Regions from separate parts of the Homo sapiens genome. Here all the other regions are linked to region 1. The links are contacts of gene promoters, found by promoter capture Hi-C in blood cells and fetal thymus (Javierre and others, 2016). All regions are on one chromosome and are shown on one strand. Each heading gives the region's core, a stretch centred on a gene start or on the middle of the fragment in contact. The rest is flanking DNA. Distances are from core to core; before and after follow the strand shown.

Region 1 (2,812 bases), core at 81-2,580:
TCCAGAAATGTGCAAGAATACATTTCTGTGTGTTAAGCCACTGAGTCTGTGGCTGTTACCACAGCCCTGAGAAACTCACACAACCTACACCTGGAAGCTGGATTCCTTCAGCTTCTGTGTTCTGATTCCAAAGCCTGGGGGAAAGCAGGATGGGCCTAGCTGGGGTCAGATGTCCGCCCCACAGAACCCAAAAGCCACTAAAGCTAAGGGCAGGAAATAGATGTGGGTTTCGGAGCTGCCCCTTCCAGTATCCTTGATAACCATCACCCTATCCAAAAGGCATTAATTCATATCTCAAGGTCAATTTGGAGGGAGGTCTCTCCAAGCAAGCCCCAGAGTTCTGTACACCTATCAGCTCCTGGGGCAAAGACACAGACGGCTGTAGCCACCGGTGTGGATGAGACAAGGCCAGGAAAGTACCGCTCTGATGACAGAATCAGAAGGACTCTGTGCAGGTTAGAGAGTTAGCAAGGTGATACTGAATGAGGACGACGATAAAACCCAACTCTTGGGTTCCAAGAGTCAACTTCACAAGCAAAATGTGGACGACGCCTGGCTTCACCGCGGCAGTGCCTTGTGAGAAAGACCTGAGGATTTTCTCTGACCAGCCGGCTTAGAGCTTCAGTTGCACGAAAAGCACAGCACTTTTGGCTGGGCTGGGGCGGTGATAGGCCTTTCGGGCTCGGTGCAACCCATACCTAAGACAGAGAGGCAACACAGGCGCCTCCAGAGAACCAGAGGTGCAACCGGGCCACCAGGCTACGTGGCAGAGGTTGCGGGGTAAGGGGGAGGTGGGATGCCTGGGGAGAGGTCAGCGGAGTTATCAAACTAAGGTTCCCGGGCAATGATGGGGCCAGGAGGCAGAGCGAGCAAACGGGGATGATCTGGGGTCTATTCCAAAGAGGTGGCGGGGGAGGTGGTGCTGCTGTGCCCCCAGTCACGGCCATCTCGGCTCCAGAGCCCTGGAGAGCAGTTCCCGGGTTCACACGGACTCTGAAGACAAGCGTATCCTGAGGGTGGACGACTCCTGGAAAGTCCACGCCCAGGCTGGCCTCAGGGGTCCGCTTCTCTGCGTCTCGCCCCGTGCCCGCAGGCGACAGAGTGGCTGGTGTGCTCGGGGGGCCTCCCAGGGCGCGGCGGCCTGCGCCCCTGCCACCTGGGGCTGCTCCCTTTGGAACCTCCTGTTCGCAGGCGGCTCCTCGGCCGTCCGCTCGGAGCTGGGGCGAGGGGCTGGCGGCGGCGAGCGGCGCGGCCCCAAGTTTATGCTAATCCGCAAAGAGCCCGCCTCCCGCCTCCCCTCCGCGGCCCCAGCCGCTAGCAGCGCCGGCCACTCCGCGGGACGCAGCCGCCGCGAAGCGCCAGGCGGCCGGGCCAGCGAGCTCGGGGGCCGAAGGGGACCCCGGGACCCTCGGGGCGGGACCCGGGCCGACCAGCGGCGGGGGCGGCGCGGCGCTGCAGGCGGACACCCGGCGGGGGGCACCGCGCGGGGCCGGGCAGAGGCGCGGGGGCCGCTATGGGCCGCCGCCGCCTGCTCGTCTGGCTGTGCGCCGTCGCGGCGCTGCTCTCGGGGGCGCAGGCCAGGGGCACCCCGCTCCTGGCGCGGCCTGCGCCGCCCGGTGCCTCCCGCTACAGTCTCTACACGACGGGATGGCGCCCGCGGCTGCGCCCGGGGCCGCACAAGTAAGCGCGGGCGGGCGGCGGGCGGGAAGAGGGAGGGATGGGCCCGCGCGCGTCGCCGCTCCCACCTGCCCGCACCCGCGGGGGGCGTCGAGGCCCCGGGCACCCCGAGGCCGCTGCACAGAGGGGGCGGCGCCCGGGGCCGAGCCCCTGCCCAGGCGAGCGCCCTACGCTCCGGGAGGTTGCGGGGCTGGCGAGGAAAAAGGAACCGAGGGGGCCTGGCGCGGCGGCTTGGGATCCTGGCAGTGCCAGCGGAAACCTTTCCAGCGAAGTAACATTTTCCAGCTGCGCTGTGTGCAGACTCCGGGCGAGCGGACCAGGTGGAGGGAGAGGAGGAAAGGCGGTCCGCGCGCTGAGCACGCGGGGCTCCCCCGCCCCGGGCCTCCCTTCTCTCCCCTGGCCCGGCCAGGTAGGAGATAGAGCTGCGCATCCGGGCGGCCGCTGCCCTCTCGCAGTCAGCCTGGCCCCAGCAACCCCATGGGAGCCCCAGCGTGGCCGGGCTGCAGAGCCAGAGCGGGCTCCTGGCTCCGGGCCTGTGCTGTGGCACAGCCGTCCACAGCGGTCGGCTTATGCCAGGCAGCCACCTCCTCAGCCCTTGTGGCTCATCAAGGAGCCTGCTTTCCCCGCCTCAGCTTCTGGTGTTTCGTGGGCAGTGGCTTGCGAACTGGCCTCAGTTAAGTGGGCTGGAGGCTCTGCCTGGGGTGCTGGCTGAACTTGAATTCTAGCTGAATTTGAGAGCTGTTGTAGGAGGAAGAGTACCGACACTCAGTGGGCCTGGGTACATCACAGCGAGCCTCCTGGAGGAGGTGGTACAAGAACTGCTCTGAGAGTAAGGGAACAGGACCAAAGGCAGGGGCTGCAAAACTACGAGGAGAGGTGGATTTCCCCGGGAGCCAGGCAGGGAGGAAGGACAAGACATGGTGCTCTCAAAGGAGTCACTGAGTGGGGACTCGGAAGCCTTAAATGCCAAGATAAGGAGTTTGGAATCAGCGAAGGATGGGGGGGTGTGGCAGGGCACTTGAGGGAGAATCCGGGCTGGCCTCTTCCCCACGCAGGGAGGGGCAGCCACATCAGGCTCCTGGTTCCAAATAGTGCTTAGCCCAGGGGCCACCCATCACGGAGGCTGGAATCAGAG
Region 2 (2,937 bases), core at 161-2,660, 190 kb after region 1:
TAAATCACCTTGAGAGGTTTTGAACAATACCTATGCTAAGGCCCCGGGTACCAGTATTTTTCAGAAGCTCCCCAAGTGGTGCTAATGTGCTGTTAGGGTTGAGACTCCACAGGTCATAACCCTGAGCTGTCGCACTGTAGGGACACGGCCTGCATGCATGGGATGGGGCAAACAACTCCTGATGCCAAAGCATTCGGCCCCAAGTAAGGGTCTTCCCCACCAACAAACACTCTGCCTTCTGGGTCAATCAACATTTGTCAGGTCTGGAGGAATCTTGAAGTGAAAATGATCTTTAAATTTGCTTGAGAGTTGGCACGTTTTCCACTAGGAAGAACAATCAAAACATTTGCAGTGAGGCAAAGGCAATGTCTTACAGAGCCCAAGAGAGGTGAGCCTCAGGTCTACAAAGCTGCCTTAAGAAAGGCAGAGCTGTCTGTTCCCCAGGTTGTGTTCCAGAAAGACACTTGTTCAGCAAATAGAGATACGTATTGATGAAAACTAAAAGGGTCAACACTAACAAACACGCCAAGGACGTCCTAACCAACGTGGATGGGCCCTAACAGAAGGGCCTACACAGTCCTCTTCCTTCTCTGATAGGAAACCTTTCTCTCCAGGCCATAAAAACCTAGAGAGGAAACATGGATCATGAGGGCCCAGGTGAATTCCCACCCACCACCTTCTTGTGTATGGGAAAAAGCCACCCTCCTCTCTATGAACTGGGACTGTGAAGCTGTAAAAGAAAGTCACACAAGAACCTGAGCACTATCGCTGTTTGATACTGGCTATCATCAGTTCATGTCATCCACGGAACCGGATCTATCTTAAATTTTTTGTGTGGCGTCATTTTTGTTCCATCCCAGCACAGCCAACTATGGAAACAGAGCTTCAGGAAGAGAAGGGCCTTTCAACTGTGTTGAAAGGGCCCAGAGATTTCAGCTGCCAAGTCCTAGAGGCAATCAGAATGGCACCTGGCAGTGTTAACGAACTGAATGCAACATTTTTGAAAGGAGAGGTTTCTGTGGAACTGGAAAGGGGCTCTGGTTGTTTCCAGCTCACCACCAAAACTGGCTGGCCACAAAGAACCCAGGCAGGATGTACTCTGCTCAGACACACCCTCAGAGGGTGGGCAGGAGAGAGTGGACCCACAACTCCTGTTAGCCCAGAGGAGGGGTTACAGCTCTTGCTGCTTAACCTGAGAAATTTCCAGAAATTTCCTACCTGCTTCTACTGCAGAATAATCATCTGGCGACTGTTTCTAGTGAGCATGTCCCATGCAACAGGCTTTCCTGAGCCCCCGAAAGAGCATACAAGTCAAAGGAAAAAGGACATGAGGATGATTTATTTGGCAGTCAGATCTTAAGAGGGCAGCAGAACTAGCAAATGGCCAACCCTGAGCCCAAATGTGGGCAGTAGGTTTGTGTGTGCTGAATGCTGGCTATGCTATGAGGCACCTTTGCGCCCACGGGCCTGGACCCCGGCCTCTGTCCTCAGAGGTGAGGGCTGCCTTTCTAACCTTCCCATCTCCATCCCTGGATCTTTTTACCAGTTAGAAGCTGCAGCAAGGATGGCAGCTTCATTCAGCACCTAACTGCCTGTACCCCACCCACCCAGGAGTCAGGCAACTCCTCAATCCCTTTTTCATTCCTCAGGGAAAGCATACTGAGTCTTCTTTGACTTAAAAACAAAAAACCTCACCAAAATAGGCTCTGCTATTTCTTCTCTTCCCACCCTGGCCCGCCCCCCATTCCTGACAGTGCCTTACATCACAAACTAAGTCCTCTTAACACAGCAGGCAGCCCACCTGCCACTCTCCTCTCCAAGGTTTCCCTACAGGGGTGAGGAGCAGGAGGAGTAAATAACTTAGTTACAATACCATTGAGACGAAAAATAATACTGCTATTTTTAACATGATCCCCTGTATCTTTCAGGCTGGGTCATGTTCCCAGCCATGGGCAATGTGCCCTTGTGCTGTGTCCTCCTCCTCAGGCAGGGCAGAACCCTTCTCCATGCAGGCCCTACATTCCTCTGCCCTGGCTCCAGGGCCAAACTGCAGGGGCATCTAGCTTCTCACCCTGCCCAGCTGTGGTTTTAAAGCTACAGGACAATGTAAACTTTGTTTCCCTGGCCCAGCAAGGCTCCTCCTCCTCCTCCACTCTTAGGAATGTCAGTAGCTCCTTGGAGTCTCCTGTGCCACTGGCTGAGGCAGCCTCTCTCTCCAAGGGGCTTCGGCCATGGTCCTGGCCCCACAAGATGGAAGGATCCATCTCCAGAAGTCAGGGCCAGATGTGTGTGCTTAATGCGAAACACAGTACAGTTTTTGCCTTCATCCAGAGCTGGGGCATGGAGGCCCAAAACAGTAATAACATCTCATTAATGGCTTGGTTTCTGTCTAGCATTCACTGCTGGAATCCAGGCTTCAGGCTGCGAGACCCGGAAGGCCGCCACAGGGGGCTGCTTCCAAAGAACCCAGTTCGCGGCATTCTACAAGGCGCACAGCACCTGCTGCTCTCCAACGAGGCTGGGGTACAACTAGAGGCGGTTGTCTCCATTGACCCGAGTCCTTCTTGGGGCCCTGGACAGAAGGGAAGAGTGTCCTTACTGGCAGGCAGGGCCTTGCAGCCCAATGCCAGACAATATTACAACTTTTCTACCCAGGAGAAAGAAACACTGAAGAAGGAGGACCTAGCCACTGCCTTCCTGGCTCTAGCACCCCTCCATCTTCCTCACCTTCGTTCTCGACTGTCAAAATGGTCTGCGAGATGCTCCTGGGAGATGCGGAAGTCCTCAAACGGCTGCTGGTAGCGGGATTCAAAGGAGCCTTCCCGGGCTCGGCCATGAAACAGCTGGCCTGAGGCATCTGAGCCCCGCTCCCGCAGGGACGTACCACTGAAGGGACTGAGGTCACCATTCTCCTGCTTCAACGAAGCCAGGTGCACA
Region 3 (3,067 bases), core at 471-2,970, 220 kb after region 1:
GCTTCCTGGAAGAGGTGGCACAGTGGGCCACAGAGGCTGAGGGGCTACAACAAATACTGAAAATGCAGTGGTCAGTGAGGTAACAACGGGAACAGAAAAAGCAGCAGCAGGCATAGTTGGGGGGAATGTGACCCCTGGGGGCAAATACAGTCTGGAAACACTGGGAAGTCCTTACATAAAGATTCCTATAGCCAGTGGGAACCACGGGAAGCTAACAGAGCTTTGGGAAAAACAGTAAAAGCAGCAGGATGCCGAGCACCCACGCCCTGCTGGGCCCGAAGCCAAGACCATGAGGAGATTCAGGAGAGTGGTCCCAGGGGTCAGAAGAGGTGTGTAGATCTCCAAAATGACCTCTCACCAATCACCCTCTCCACATGTAGTCTGTGGCAAACAGATGAGTCCCTCCCAGTTCCCCACTCCCATACCAAAGAAAATACACAGCCAGGACCTAGGAGAGCATTAATGGAGCTAAGCCTTCTCCACCAGAGGATGCTGAAAGATGGACAAAGAAAAGTTCCAGCAGAAGTGAGTATCATCTGGGCCACTTCTGGCCCCCTACCTCAGTCACCCCATCCCCAGGTTCCTATACAACTCCCTGTGGGGTACGGCAGGCACTGCACTGCAGATCCCCCTTCACAGGCAGCCAGAGGCACAGGGGCTCTGCACCCATCAGGACCATACGGCTTTGGCAAGGTTTTTGCAGCTCTGAAGGAAAAGGATGGAGGTAGCCAAAGAAGAGACAAAGATAGGACCTGGACACAGGTGGGAAGGAAGCCTGATGCAATAGTAGCCAGGTCACAGGATGGTCAGCATTTCCAAGCTGGCTGCATATGCCCAAAGCCTGTGGAAAGGGTGAGAGTTCTCCTCTCCCTCTCATTCCTCCCTCTTCCTGAGACTATAATATTCCTCCTCCTGCCTCTCAGTAGAAACATACTCACAAATCTGAGGTTTCCCTGAGCACATCTGGCTGCCACCAAAGGAAGGTCAAAGTGGAGGGGTGGGTAGCTATCCCTTTCCATTTTACAAACAAGGATCTGGGTTCAGGGACTTCTGAGGTCACAGGGTTATATGGCAAAGGGAAGGCGATGGTGGGGCTTACTGTCCTTCCCATTACTGTGCAGCAGCTGCCTTCAAACCAGACCCGCGGGCAGCGAGTTGGACAAGCTTGGTCTAGATTCTAGACAAATCTCTTTGAAACAATGAGGAAACAGAGGGTCCAAAGGGTCTTGTCATGGTCATATGGTGAGTCATGGCAGAACTGGGACACTCTGCAGTGTCCCCACAGCAGCTGCTATCCCTGACACTGGGTATACAGAGAAACACAGAGCAGCCACAGCCAGCCTTTGTACCATCCAGGCAGGCAGCCCTCTTCCCTAGGACTCTAAATTAATCTCACCTATTTCAGAGGTAAGAACAGAATCCAAAGGAAGGAAGGGAAAGGAGGTCCCACCCAGAGAAATTAAAGCTGGAAGAGCACTCAGCAGTGATCTATTCGGCTTATGCAGTCATTCATTCCATCATCTGATCAAACATTTATCGGGCATCTATCTACTCCATGTCAGGCCCTGGGCTGGGTCCTAGGGAAACAGAGATCAATAAGGCATTTGAGTTCCTGCCTTTGAGAAAACCCCTGCCTGATGGAGGAAACAGATGGGGAAGCAGATAACTATGAGGTCATGCAACGAGTAGAACAACAGGGAGGTGTCTGTGGAGCTGAGTGTGTGTAGAGCAATGTCTTGGAGTGCTCTGTAAAAGCCAGGTCTGGAGGGCTGACAAGCACACATTGGGCAGAGGGGTTCATGGAAACCAAGACAGAGGTGCAGGAGTCCACTAAGTTCCACAAACAGGGCATTCAGAGTATCATGGATGAGAAGGGAGGGAAGATGGCCTATACCAAGCCTTGACTGCCACAGTAGGGAAAGGTGGCTTTCCCCAACTTTTCTGCACAAGCCCAGAAGATTCTCCAGGCAGCCATGGGTCAGCCTCTGTGTCAGGAGTCTAGTGTGCTCCAAACTCTGCCTCCCTTGCAGACTGATGCTGCCTAAGTTCTTTCTAGATGGCCTGTGTATGCCAGGCTCCTAGCTACAGGAGAGAGACTGGGGACCCACCAGGGCCATGTCTCAGGGATGCCCAGGACCTCAAAAGTCCCTCATAAAATGCTCCCCCACATAGTACACTCAGGCTACTTGGAGAACCAGAGCAATGGGTATAAGTCACTTTTAAAATTTTTCTTTATATTTTATAGAGATGGGGTCTCACTATGTTGCCCAAGCTTGTCTCAAACTCCTGGCCTCAAGTGATCCTCTCACTTCGGCCTCCCAAAGTGCTGGGATTACAGGTGTGAGCCACCATGCCTGGCCCATAAGTCACTCTGTTGTCCAGGCTGGAGTGCAGTGGCACCAACAGGGCTCACTGTAGCCTCTACCTCCCCAGGTGCAGGTGATCCTCCCACCTTGGCCTTTCAGGTAGCTGGGACTACAGGCAAACCACAACGCCAGGCTGATTATATTTTTTGCAGAGATGGTGTTTTGCCATGTTGCCCAGGCTGTTCTTGAACTCCTGGGCTCAAATGACTCGCCAGTCTTGGCCTCCCAAAGAGCTGGGATTACAGGCATGAATCACCGTGCCTGACCCATAAATCACTTATCTATGGTCCTCCTTCCTGACACCTCAGAGCAATCAACATGGTTGATCACGCCCTCTCTCCTTGAAGCTCTGCCCTTGATTTCTCCTGCACAACCTTGCCTGGTTTTCATGCTTCTTTGTGCGCTACAGGCCTACCTGCATTTAGCAATGGCCTTGGTCAAGGCTCAGGTCAAGGTCCTCTCTTCCGGTGCTCTGCCTTCTTCCTCATCAGTGTCAGCCATGCCCACACCCTTAATTACCTCCTATGTACAGATAATTCACAAACAGGTCTCTAGCCTAGTCCTCTCCTCTTAAGCTTCAGATCCTTCAATTCAGCTGCCTACTTGCTATCCCCACTCTTCATCTCAAAACGTCTCAAAGACAACTCCTCAAAACCAAACACTGTCTTCTCTCTCTCACCAGAACCAAGGCCTCTTGCCAT

The links. The method cuts DNA at HindIII sites, captures the fragments that hold promoters and counts their contacts. A CHiCAGO score of 5 or more calls a contact.
Region 2: a fragment that was not itself captured here is called in contact with the fragment with the promoter of EMILIN3 in region 1 in 2 of 17 cell types (megakaryocytes and erythroblasts); the score reaches 6.3 in megakaryocytes.
Region 3: a contact is called between a fragment that was not itself captured here and the fragment with the promoter of EMILIN3 in region 1, in 3 of 17 cell types (megakaryocytes, erythroblasts and M1 macrophages). The highest score is 6.3, in megakaryocytes.

What each region holds. Positions count from the first base shown.
Region 1 is chr20:41,365,336-41,368,147 of GRCh38, reverse strand. It overlaps EMILIN3 (elastin microfibril interfacer 3), which reads left to right and starts at 1,330. Exons shown (of 4, transcript NM_052846.2): 1 at 1,330-1,680. The coding sequence starts at 1,514. RefSeq lists an enhancer at 2,092-2,593. The HindIII fragment of the contact is 20,041 bases long and covers 1-2,812 here.
Region 2 is chr20:41,174,102-41,177,038 of GRCh38, reverse strand. It overlaps PLCG1 (phospholipase C gamma 1), which reads right to left. Exons shown (of 32, transcript NM_002660.3): 31 at 2,728-2,915; 32 at 1-2,572. The coding sequence ends at 2,530. Among named protein-coding and RNA genes, the nearest start is that of MIR6871, 6.5 kb to the right of the region's middle. The HindIII fragment of the contact is 9,247 bases long and covers 1-2,937 here.
Region 3 is chr20:41,149,478-41,152,544 of GRCh38, reverse strand. The region is part of intron 1 of PLCG1 (phospholipase C gamma 1); the gene reads right to left. Among named protein-coding and RNA genes, the nearest start is that of PLCG1-AS1, 13 kb to the right of the region's middle. The HindIII fragment of the contact is 1,108 bases long and covers 1,167-2,274 here.